Regions from separate parts of the Homo sapiens genome. Here region 2 is linked to region 1. The links are contacts of gene promoters, found by promoter capture Hi-C in blood cells and fetal thymus (Javierre and others, 2016). All regions are on one chromosome and are shown on one strand. Each heading gives the region's core, a stretch centred on a gene start or on the middle of the fragment in contact. The rest is flanking DNA. Distances are from core to core; before and after follow the strand shown.

Region 1 (6,336 bases), core at 3,337-5,836:
GCTGGTCACCAGAAATACCAAGCCATGATTAGAGGTGGAGAATTTTCAGCCTCACACCCCGTCCTCCAGGGAGGGGAAATGGACTAGAGATTGACTTAATCAATTGTGTCTATGTCATGAAGCCTCCATAACAATCCCGAAAAGGCTGGCTTTGGAGAGCTTCCAGGTTGGTGAACACATTCACCTGCTAGAAGGGTGGCTCACTCCAGCTTCATGGGTCAGAAGCCCCTACACTCCAGACCCTTCCAGACCTTGACCTATGTATATCTTCATCTGTTGTTCATCTGTATCTTTTATCATAATCTTTATAATAAGCCGGAAATGTGTTTTCCAGATTTCTGTGAGATATCATAGTAAATTATCAAACCCAAGGAGAGGGTTGTGGGAATCCCCAATTTGTAGCCAAGTCGGATAAGCAGTGTAGGTCATCTGGGGATCCACTTCTTGTGACTGGTGTCTGAAGTTGGGGGTAATCTTGTAGAAATAAGCCCTTTGAGGTCTGCAATACTTCAGGTAGTTAGTGTCAAAATTGAATTATAGGACACCCAGTTGGTGTCCAGGAGCTGGAGAATTGGTTGGTGAGGGGAAAAACTCTGTGTTTCAATAAAATTTAAACTGTGGTAAAATACATATAACTGTGTTCACCATCTTAACCAGTTTGGTAGCATTAAGTATATTCATATTTACTGTGGTAAAATACATGTAACATGGTGTTCACCATCTTAACCAGTTTGGTAGTATTAAGTATATTCATATTTACTGTGGTAAAATACATATAACATGGTGTTCACCATCTTAACCTGTCTGGTAGTGTTAGGTTTATTCGTATTTACTGTGGTAAAATACATACAACATTGTGTTCACCATCTTAGCCAGTTTAGTAGTGTTAAGTGTATTCATACTGTTGTGTAACCAATCCCCAGAACTTTTTCATCCTGCAAAGCTGAAACTCTGTACTCATTAAGCAACAGCTGTTCATTTTCCCCTCCTAGCCCCTGGCAACTACATTCTACTTTCTGTCTCTATGAATTTAACTAGACACCTCATATAAGTAAAATCATACAGTATTAGTCTTTTTGTGACTGGTTTATTTCACCTAGCATAATGTCCTTAAGGTTCATCCATGTTGTAGTATATGTCAGAATTTCCTTCCCTAAGGCTAAATAATATTTTATTATGTGTATATAGAATAGTTTCTCAGTATTTACGGGGAATTGGTTCCAGGACCACCAAGGATACCACTAAGTCCCTGATATAAAATTATGTAGTATTTGCATATAACCTGTACATATTCTCTCATATACTTTAAATCATCTTTGGATTACTGATAATACCTAATACAATGTAAATGCTACAGAAATAGTTTTTATAAGGTATTGTTTATGAAATAGTGACAAGAAAATGAAGTCTGTACATGTTCAGTACATACACAGTGTTTTGTGAAATATTTTTGATCCTCTGGTGGCTGAATCCATAAATGTAGAACCCACAGATATGGAGGGCTGACTATGCTACATTTTTAAATTAATTAATCTGTCAATGGACACTTGCATTGCTCCCACTTCTTGGCTGTTGTGAATACTGTTGCTATGTGGGTGGGTGTACAAATATCTAAGAACCTACTTTCAAATCTTTTGGTTATATATCCAGAAATAGTGTTGTTGAATCCTATGGTAATTCTATTCCTAATTTTTTGAAGAACTGTCATACTGTTTTTAATAGTGGCTGTACCATTTTATATTCCCACTAGCACTACACAGGGGTTCCAATTTCTCCACATCCTTACCAACACTTATTCTTTTTGTGCTTTTGACAATAACTATCCTAATTGATATAAGATAATAAGATTATTACATTTTCTTCAGTCATGGGGAAGTTTCAATTAATGTCCGAGATTGAGCTAGTAATTGACTCAGATGTAAATTCTCCACTTCAAAGTACCTGTAGTTGTTGCTGGAAGGCCCTCCAGGCTTTTGCCACAAGCCCTAATCTACCCTCCACACAGGTCCACTATGCACAGAATTTGTGCATCCTAGCACTTCAGGTTTTATTCTATACTGTGTGGGCTTCAACAATCTTGTTCATTTCTATTTAGCAAATATAATTAATATTGCTTAAAGGCAGAATTTATATGCCTTGTGTTTTATAGCACTAGGTAGGGAAACATTCCCCAGTCAGACACAATATCCATTCCCAGAATACATTCAGGTAAAAGAGACACAATCATTTCACATAAAGCCTGTGTAAGCCCTCCAATTTTTGCCCAAACTTTGATCTTGATCCTATCATTTTTTGCAGAGCAGAGACCCTGTTTCAGGGGCCTCTGCAACCCCTCTCCCACAAATATGGAAATAAAGGAAAATCTGGAGTTCCTTTAAAGGAAATTCCATGCATCTAGCTAGCCCTGAGGAATGAAGTTAAGGAACTTCATCAGATTCCTTAAATGAATAAGGAACTTGATAAGCAAGAAAGTAATAGGAACCTAAAACAATAACCATGGAAGTTAAGAGTCAGGAGATTTTTTGTTCCCCTATAGACACTAAATATAATGTCTTAACATATGTCCCTGAGTTGTCTTTCAGAAACCCAGATCCCACCAAACAGTTCCACAGACAGGTAGACCTCAGATAAGAGGGAACTGGGGACTAAACTCTGACAACCATTCTTTGTTCTAAATATCTTCCTGAGGGGCCTGGATGGAGTCACACTCAGGAGCCAAAGCTCATTCTTTTCTGCTGACTGCAAATTCTCTTCCTTCACCAACTGCAAATCAGAAAATCTTTGAATCTACCTATGACCTGTAAGCCCCCCACTTCAAGAGATATCTCTCCTTTGGGCCAATACCAATGTGTAACCTCCATGTATTGACTTATGATTTTGTCTGTAACTTCTGCTTTCCTGAAATTTACATTTTCCTTTAAAAACCTTTACCTGTAAGCCATCATGGAGGTCAGAATTTAAGAGTAGCTGCCTGGTCTTCCTTGCTTGGAGCCCTGCAAATAAATGCCCTCCTTTTTCCTGCTGCAAACCTCAGTGTGGCTATCTGGTCTTATTGTGCCAGGAGAGCATATCTCAGTTAGGTTTGATTAGTAAGTGGCACAAGTGAACCCTCTGGAGTGATGGAAATGTTATAGATTTTAATGTGGGTCATGGTTACATGGATATACACACGTAAAATTAAGCAGTAAACTTGATTTTATAAGTAAATTTATAAACTTAGCATTTTTAAGTTAGCATTCAATAAAAACATTAAGGGCAGTCATTCGAAAAAGTAGAAATAGAAGGCATAACTTCTTCCATAGTGGAGGAAAAAGAAACAAAGACAAATCACTTACTACAAGAAAAGGCAAGAAAGATGGAAAAAAGGAAGAAGGAAAGGTTTGGCTGATAGCAAAGATTTAGGAAGAAATTGCAAAAGTACCGAAAGTTATAAGCATCACACAAAATGGACTAAGGTAAAAAGGTTTTTACGAATAAGGAGGATCATTACATAAAAAAGGTATTCACCAGAAATACGTAGCAATTCTCAATTTTTATATATCTCACAATATAACCTTAAATTACATGAAGCAAAAACCAGACATAAAGACAAAGAGAAATTTACAAATCCACAATTATGGTAAATTTTAAGACAGTTCTAGTGTTTGGCAATTCTATCAAATAAAAAACAAGTTAGAAAAGGGAAGATTTAAATATCAGAAAATAAGAAAGAACTTTGTCCAACATTTAGAGAATACACTTTCTGCTCAGTATATATGGAACATTAATTACACCATATTAGGTCACAAAGCAAGTCTCAACGAAAAACAATGGATATCGTACAGAGCATATTAAAAAATAACCAACAGGCACATATGTTTGAAAATTTACAAACATACTTCTTTAATACATGGTCCAAAAAGGAAATAACAAAGATGAGAAAATCTTAGGAACTGAACAACAATGAAAACAACATATATTACAGCTCAAGGCATGATATTAACCAGTGCATAGAGAATAAGTTTTAACCTTAAATATAACAATTAGAAGAAACATTTTTTAAACTCTTAATGTGCTAAGTGTCTTATTTAAAAAATTAGAACAAAATAATATAAACAATAAATCCAATAAATGTAGAAAGAATAAAGACAATAGCACCAAATAAAATCAAAACAGAGGATAGACGAGGCTAAAAGCTGATTAGTTTAAAAAGATCAGTAAGGTAAAATTTAAACTTGTTAACTGTTATTACTCTATTTTTCAATAATTGAAAAATGATTTTTAACTTAATAATTTTAGTAATTTAAAAAATTCATACTATTTTTTTCTGTTTGAAAATGGTTTGGGTAGCTTAGGTTTGGGATCATTACAATTGTTCTCATTAAAACTAATAGAAAAAAATTTTTTTCCACCTAACGGCTTTTCCCTGAGCTTTCAGGAGGCCATTGAAGCCGTTAAGACCGGGTCAGGTGAACAGGAAGTTAAAGACTGAAAAGGAGACACAAAACTGCCGACTTTCCCGACGGCGAATTGGCCCTCTGGAAACAGCCGACCAATCACAGGCAGCAGGGGCGCGCCCTGCAGCGGGGCTCCGGCTGCGGTTCCGTGGACTCGGCGACTAGGCGCCGCCTGACCAGTAGGAGCCGCCCTCGACGAGCGAGCTCGAAGGCTGCGACTGGCGCCGCCTCACCGCCTCCCACCGCCACTGACCGACCGTTCGACCGGCAAACATGGTTGAAGCGGATCGCCCGGGGAAGCTGTTCATTGGGGGCCTCAACCTCGAAACCGACGAGAAAGCCCTCGAAGCCGAGTTTGGCAAGTATGGCCGCATCGTCGAGGTGCTCCTGATGAAAGACCGAGAAACCAACAAGTCGAGGGGCTTCGCGTTCGTCACCTTTGAAAGCCCCGCAGACGCCAAGGCCGCCGCCAGAGACATGAACGGCAAGTCCCTGGATGGTAAGGCCATCAAGGTGGCCCAGGCCACCAAACCGGCGTTCGAGAGCAGCCGGCGGGGCCCGCCGCCTCCCCGCAGCCGCGGTCGCCCGAGGTTCCTGCGCGGAACCCGCGGGGGTGGCGGCGGCCCGCGGCGTTCCCCATCCCGGGGCGGGCCCGATGATGACGGCGGCTACACGGCGGATTTCGACCTGCGGCCCTCCAGGGCCCCGATGCCCATGAAGCGTGGGCCGCCGCCGCGCAGGGTCGGCCCACCCCCCAAGAGGGCCGCGCCGTCGGGCCCGGCTCGCAGCAGCGGCGGTGGAATGCGCGGGAGGGCCCTGGCCGTGCGGGGGCGAGACGGCTACTCAGGCCCACCGCGCCGGGAGCCGCTGCCCCCGCGCCGCGACCCCTACCTGGGCCCGCGGGATGAGGGCTACTCGTCCAGAGACGGCTACTCGAGCCGAGACTACCGCGAACCCCGGGGTTTTGCCCCCTCGCCCGGAGAGTACACCCACCGCGATTACGGCCACTCCAGTGTCCGGGACGACTGTCCCTTGAGAGGCTACAGCGACCGAGACGGCTACGGAGGTCGCGACCGTGACTACGGGGATCATCTGAGCAGAGGCTCCCATCGAGAGCCCTTTGAGAGCTACGGAGAGCTGCGCGGCGCCGCCCCAGGACGGGGGACACCGCCATCTTACGGAGGAGGAGGCCGCTACGAGGAGTACCGGGGCTACTCACCCGATGCCTACAGCGGCGGCCGCGACAGTTACAGCAGCAGTTATGGCCGGAGCGACCGCTACTCGAGGGGCCGACACCGGGTGGGCAGACCAGATCGTGGGCTCTCTCTGTCCATGGAAAGGGGCTGCCCTCCCCAGCGTGATTCTTACAGCCGGTCAGGCTGCAGGGTGCCCAGGGGCGGAGGCCGTCTAGGAGGCCGCTTGGAGAGAGGAGGAGGCCGGAGCAGATACTAAGCAGGAACAGACTTGGGACCAAAAATCCCTTTTCAACGAAACTAACAAAAAGAAGAACCTGTTGTATGGTAACTACCCAAGGACTAGTACAAGGAAGAGTTGTTTTTACCTTTTAAGAATTTCCTGTTAAGATCGTCTCCATTTTTATGCTTTTGGGAGAAAAAACTTAAAATTCGTTTAGTTTAGTTTTGGAATTGTTAACGTTTCTTTCAACAAGCTCCTGTTAAAAGTATATGAACCTGAGTACTAGTCTTCTTACATTTACAAGTAGAAATTCGATTAATGGCTTCTTCCCTTGTAAATTTTCTTGATAAATGAGGCAAACAGTTCTAAGATCTTTGATAAACATCTGCTCACCTAAAATGGAAAAACGGATCATTCTGCTCATTTAAACCAACTAGATTTTGGGTGGAGAGTGGGAGGGATTGGTGTATGCTACTCTTAAGAT
Region 2 (5,837 bases), core at 2,481-4,980, 330 kb after region 1:
GCATGCACCTGTAATCCCAGCTACTTGGAAGCTGAGACAGGAAAATTGCTTGAACCCGGGAGCTGGAGGTTGCAGTGAGCCGAGATCATGCCACTGCACTCCAGCGTGGGTGACAGAGTGAGACTCCATTTCAAAAAAAAAGAAATATTAGCCTCAAGGTCAAAGGAGCTATGTATCTTTCTATAGTTGGGAAACTAACTGGGCCAAAGAAGCTGAACTTAGAAGAAAGGAGGGACAAGTATAAGACAATAACAGTATTCTCTAAAGAGAGGAAGCAGGAAGATCCATAAGCCTCCTTCACTTACCTTAGTTTGTGGGCTGAAGACCCATGGCTGCCAGACACAAAACTGCTCCCTCACCCATGCTTGGTTGCCTCTTGTGGGAATTAGAGCAGCCATTATTGCAAGAAACTCATTTCAGATGACTCCCTCTTTATTACATGGAGGCCAGCCTAGATCCAGGACGAGAGGTGGCATCCTTAGCACAAATCGTGGGGTTCTTTGAACAAGGTTCTTGGAAACAAGTTGACCCATGTCAGTTTTAGGACAGCCAGGGTATACGTTAGATCCCAAGTCCTATTGGCCGTGAAGCTTAGCCTGTAGTTTTAAGTGAGGAAATGAAAAAACAAACAAACAAACAAACAAAAAACCACATCCCCAATTCCTTCATCAGTTTAATTGAGTAGCTATTGATCTTACATACCAAAATTTTAAGAAAAAACTATTGTGGGCCATTTTCACAGTGTAGGTCACAATGAGATCATCGGCGTGTGTCAAGTAGGCAACGAGGCTGAGAGGCTGGGCAGAGACCACTGGAGTGAAATGTTGTCATATCCTCGGAAGCCCATTGCACACTGGCATTCCCTGGTGGAGGTAAGACCCTAATCCACATGCTCCACTTTGCATAAGAGTAAATGCTTTACTGTTGAAATGCAGGAGCTGCCAAACATATGAGTGCACCAGGATCTATGGTCATAGACGGGTTTTCCTGGTTGCATTTCCTGGGGCTGTTGGGACTTGCATTCAATTTGAGGCTGAATCTGTGCTTCCCACCAGTCTGGTAGGTTTTGAGTATTGATCAGAGATCATCCCTCATTTTGATTGTATTTTTAAAAGATCAAGATTCTCTGCTTCTGTGTTAAGGCTTTGGGTTGGTACTTGGAGGGCATCTGCAAGGTGTGGGTGAGTGGGGACTTTCAGGCCTTCGTACAGTGACTTGAGACTGACTTTGGAAAAAACATAAGGCCTTGATTCTAAGACCAGCTCTGGCACCAACCTGTGATTCTGGGCAAGTGGGTTAGTATCAGGTTCAACTACATATAATAAAAACCAAAACAACCAATTATAAATTAAAAACAAATGAAATGAGAATTTATTTCTCTCTCTTATATACAAAAAGTCTAGAGGAAGGCAGTCTGGAGTATCTTAGCAGCTCCATGATCAACAAGAGACCTAGACTTCTGTCTTTCTGCCTCACAGTCCCAGTGTGGCTTTGTTCCTTGAAGTCCCCTCATTATACAATATGGCTGCTAAGCTCCAACCATTGCATATTTTCTAGGCCACAAAAATGTGCAAAAGGGCAAGAGCCAAAAGGGCACACATTCCCTTTTTGATTCTCTTTGAATTCTCATGCAAGACTGCTATTTACATTTAATTTAGTCACAAAACTTAGTCACGTGGACATGTCAAGTTGCAGGGGATAGTTGGAAATGTAACCTTTTTGTTGGGTGTCAATGTGTCCAACTAAAAACCAGGGTTCTGTTTGCAGAGAAGAGGAAAGTGAAAACCTGGAGTCAACCGGCCATCATTCTGCCACTCACATCCTCATTCATTCACTCCCTCCCCCTTTACTTCTCATTCATTCTTCCCCTACTTATCTTTGCTCATTGATTCACTCTCTTATTTATTCACTAACTTGTTCTCTCAAAAATAATTTGCACTCCCTAAGTAACATGTCTGAGGGTCCAATGCTATAATAGCTACAGAAAATACAGATATGAATAAGAAACAGTCCTTTCCCTTGTAGAACTTACAGACTGTAAAATAAACAAAAGATGACATGTAAACTAATCTTCGAGAGGCACAAATACAAGCATTTCCATCCATATAAAGTGCTACAAAAGCGCAAAGGAGAGAGATGTTTACTGTGCTTAGAGGAGATTGTGAAGCATCTCTCCTTCATGCTCTCAATAAGTAAAGAGAACTGAGCCCCCGGGAACTGGAAAGCCAGGAGGGCAGCAGCAGTTATTTACTGAGGATGCGTGGGTTCCAGGCAGAGAGCTTTCCTCTGTTCTCCTGGTGCAGGAAGCTCTCTTCCATGCAAAGCCATCTGAGAGGCCAAGACTAGAGCCTCACCCAGTGTGGGCACCCCTGCCATTGATAGTCAGGTGAGTCTGGTTGAAGTGAACACAGGGCGGCTGTGGAGAGGCAGAGAGGCAGAGAGGCCCCAAACCCAGACAGGGGAACCAAGGGACATCTTTGTTGGAAGTGGGGCAGGAAGGAGAAGGCAGGACAGGGTTTATGGATTCTAACCATCAGGGCACCCAGATGTATTCAAGAAGAGCCTAGGACCCCCTAATTTGCGGGTTCTTAAGGATAGTTCTGCCCGTGGGCCATAGGAGCAAAATTGATCCCTAAGGGAGACCCACAGGATCTATGAGCCACTTGAGAAGGAGCTGGAGACTGGTGCTCACTGAACTATACCTCACTTCTTCAGCTCCTGGTGGAATTCTCAAAGGAGTCCATCTGTGGGCTCATTAGATTTTGGGGGCCTGTCACTAGCAGTGGCATTTAGAAGAGTTGTAATAGACTTTTTGCACCCTTATGAGCCATTGCTGACTTTAATTCTTATTGGTAATTAGGAGTATCAGAGAGTGTTAAAGCTCTGTGCTTCTCAGGAAACAAGAAATGAGAAAGGAGTAAGGATGAGGTGTGTGGTGTAGGGCTGAGAGGTGAGCCCTGATTCATGCACAAGCAGTTTTTTTTCAGTGACCTGGGCAGGGGAGTAGTCCTGGGTGGAGTGTTGCACACGGGTCCCTGAGTGGCAGTATATGCACGTGTTACACAAAGGAGAGTGCAGGGAGCAGGCCTTGGAGGCCTTTTCCTTCACTGTGGAGAAAAAGTGTGATATAAATTCATTCACCTGAGAGATATTCCTCAAACCCCAAACACTCAGCTTTTTGGAAATCTGTGCTCCACAGTTATGTAACTGAAAAGTAAATGCCATTAGGGTTAAACCACTGAAACTTAGAAGTCATTTGTTACAGCGGCTAAAATTACTTTGGCCAATACAATGGTCATTTCTGAACTGTTACAGCAGAACTAAGGAAATGAAATGCCTGTGGGGCTTATATGAAGGGCAAGCCTTCATATAAGCAGGGGGAGGGCAAACCTTCCTATAAGCAGAGGCAGAGGGAGGCTGCCTCTTCCCCGTTGCTTCCTGTCTCTTTGAAGTACACGTCTGGGACTCCAGATCCATCCTGAGAGAGGAAGTGATGCTTTTTCTTTTAAAAATGAACATTGAGCTGGCAGAATTGGGGCAATGGTACCAGATGAGATGAAAAACAGTATTGGAGAGGTTGGCCATGCTTCGTTAGCAGCTGTAAGGATGGAGGAGGCAACAGGCAGACTGGCCAGAAACATTCACTTTGGAGTTGGAAGGACCTATATTCGAATTGCTGTCCTGCCACTCACTAGATGTTTGTTTTTCCCCTTCTGAACCTCAGTGTTCTCATCTGTAAAGTGGCCATAACAGTGCTTGTCTCACAAGAGGGATGGTGAGGATTAAACAATCTATTTATATGAAATGCAGCATTGTAGCTGATATATAATAAACACTCAGTAAAGTTTTCAGTTATAGTTGTTATTATGTATGCCCCACATTCTGAGGGGCTGCTGTGTGTCCTTATGGGCCTATGTCCTGTGAAGAAATATCATCCATGTGTGTCATGGAGAATAAGAGAAAGGCCGGGAATCCACCACTCCTGCACCCCAGTGAGCCATCATCTCAGAGTGGGGGGAAGGGGTCATCCAGTACTTGGCTAAACACAGATGCACATATTTAAGTTTTGTTTCTTTCCTCTTTTCCTTGGCCTTAAAGACAGGCTGCTGTTATGCTCTCTAAGAACCTTTTAAATGTCTTCTTTAAAACAAAAACCAGCAATTAAATCTCAGTGCTCATGATAACAGAGTATGTGAGTGTGCACTCATGAGCATGTGTGTATGGAAGACAGAGAGAGAGGGAGAGAGAACGAAGATGGGGGCCCTGGGATTTAGCATGGAGGGAGGCTGGCCTGGCAGAAGCTCTTCACTGCTGAGGAATTGGTTAGGTCTAAACTCTGAGCCCTGCAGAGATCTGGCAGCCTGCTCAGGGTTGCATCCAATACACCCTGACCTTGCCAGGGCAGGTGGCAGATGGAATCTTCAAAGCCAGTGAGTTCAAAAATCCGTTTCTCTCGCAGGAATTCTGGATGAATTCACTGCACACTCAAAGGTCAGCCAGTAGGGCTCCCTTTACTCCCCATGATGCCAAAGGTTTGGAAAGCTGTGAAAACTCCCCCAAGCAGACTGCCTAGGGCTTAGGAATCGGAGCACCCCCTCCATAGGGCCTCAGATGACAGAGCTCTAAGAGCTCCCTTAGCACGGCACCCTCCTCCACCAATTCAAGAGAAGATGGTTTCGGCCTGGCCATATCACAACACCTTTCCTGCCTCCTGTATGTCAAGATGACCAACATCATAAGCCTCATGGAGAATAATAGGAAATAGTTCCAAGTTTTCATCGCTTCCCTGTGTAGTGCCATGTAACATCTGTTGTATGAATAAGTACTAATCTTGGTTTGGTGGGAAGACGAGACACAGACACTATCTGGTTAAATGAAATTTCACTTTTCTAAAAGAAGAAAGAGAATCCGATCAGAATATATAGTCAAGATCAGCACTATTATCCTATAGGCATAGGTGTAGGATTCCAAACACCAAAGTTCTACTCAAGGCGTGCCCCATTTTGGATGTCTGCCTCACTCCAAGCTCAACCTTTGTGCATACACGTACATACAGCTACAAAAGTTCTGCATGTCTGACTGTCTGCTGGGACCAGCTCATTGAGCCTCCTGCCCCTCTTCAACTCAGAATTACATAATGCCAAGTATAACCAGAAGGCAGTTATGGTACAATATGCCCAGACATAAACAGAGCCCTCATTTATCACCCTCAGCCTCTAGAAGGGTATAAACTTAGAGTCAAAGGACTACAGCAACTGTCAGTTACCCAGACTTGTAGTTACACAAGCAGCCCGTGTAAACCATCTCTAGATATTATCTGTCAAGTGTCCAGCAGGGCCTATCTGGAGTCTTGGAGATCCACATATTCCCAGGAGAATGTATCTGATTGCCCAAGATTTGATTAGGTGTCCATCCCGGTGCAATTTGCTGTAGGTCTGGGGTCATGAAAATGTGACCTGGACCTACCTCAGCAGGAGTTTTGGGAGTAGACTTCTTGAGAAGAGTCCGCACAGGACAGGGAAATTGTCTAAAATGAACATGAATGACTGTTTCCCAAAGGAATTTAAAGTGAGGAGTGAGAGGCTTTAGCACTGTGGCCAAATTGTTATTCACAACAGATTTAGGAAAGGAGCAATTCACCAGGAAAGATGGGAGTGGGGAGAGCATGGGGTGACTGGGAAAAGCCACGTAGGAAATCAGGTTCCCATCAAGGGGATTTGGGTGTGTTGCAGGGCTTGGGTCTTGTTGAGAACCAGACTAGCAGGGAAGAACACTGAGACAAGACAAAAAGAAAAGCATGGACTGAAACGTACAATAGGGAAAGTCCTAGAAAGTGC

The links. Contacts are between HindIII fragments. The CHiCAGO score rates a contact against its expected background, and 5 or more counts as called.
Region 2: a contact is called between a fragment that was not itself captured here and the fragment with the promoter of RBMXL2 in region 1, in 1 of 17 cell types (total CD4 T cells). The highest score is 5.1, in total CD4 T cells.

What each region holds. Positions count from the first base shown.
Region 1 is chr11:7,084,412-7,090,747 of GRCh38, forward strand. It overlaps RBMXL2 (RBMX like 2), which reads left to right and starts at 4,587. Exons shown (of 1, transcript NM_014469.5): 1 at 4,587-6,336. The coding sequence starts at 4,710. The coding sequence ends at 5,888. It also overlaps a transcript of NLRP14 not described here. The HindIII fragment of the contact is 13,917 bases long and covers 1-6,336 here.
Region 2 is chr11:7,419,764-7,425,600 of GRCh38, forward strand. It overlaps SYT9 (synaptotagmin 9), which reads left to right. Exons shown (of 7, transcript NM_175733.4): 6 at 743-872. Among named protein-coding and RNA genes, the nearest start is that of SYT9-AS1, 43 kb to the right of the region's middle. RefSeq lists a silencer at 3,328-3,387. The HindIII fragment of the contact is 6,285 bases long and covers 589-5,837 here.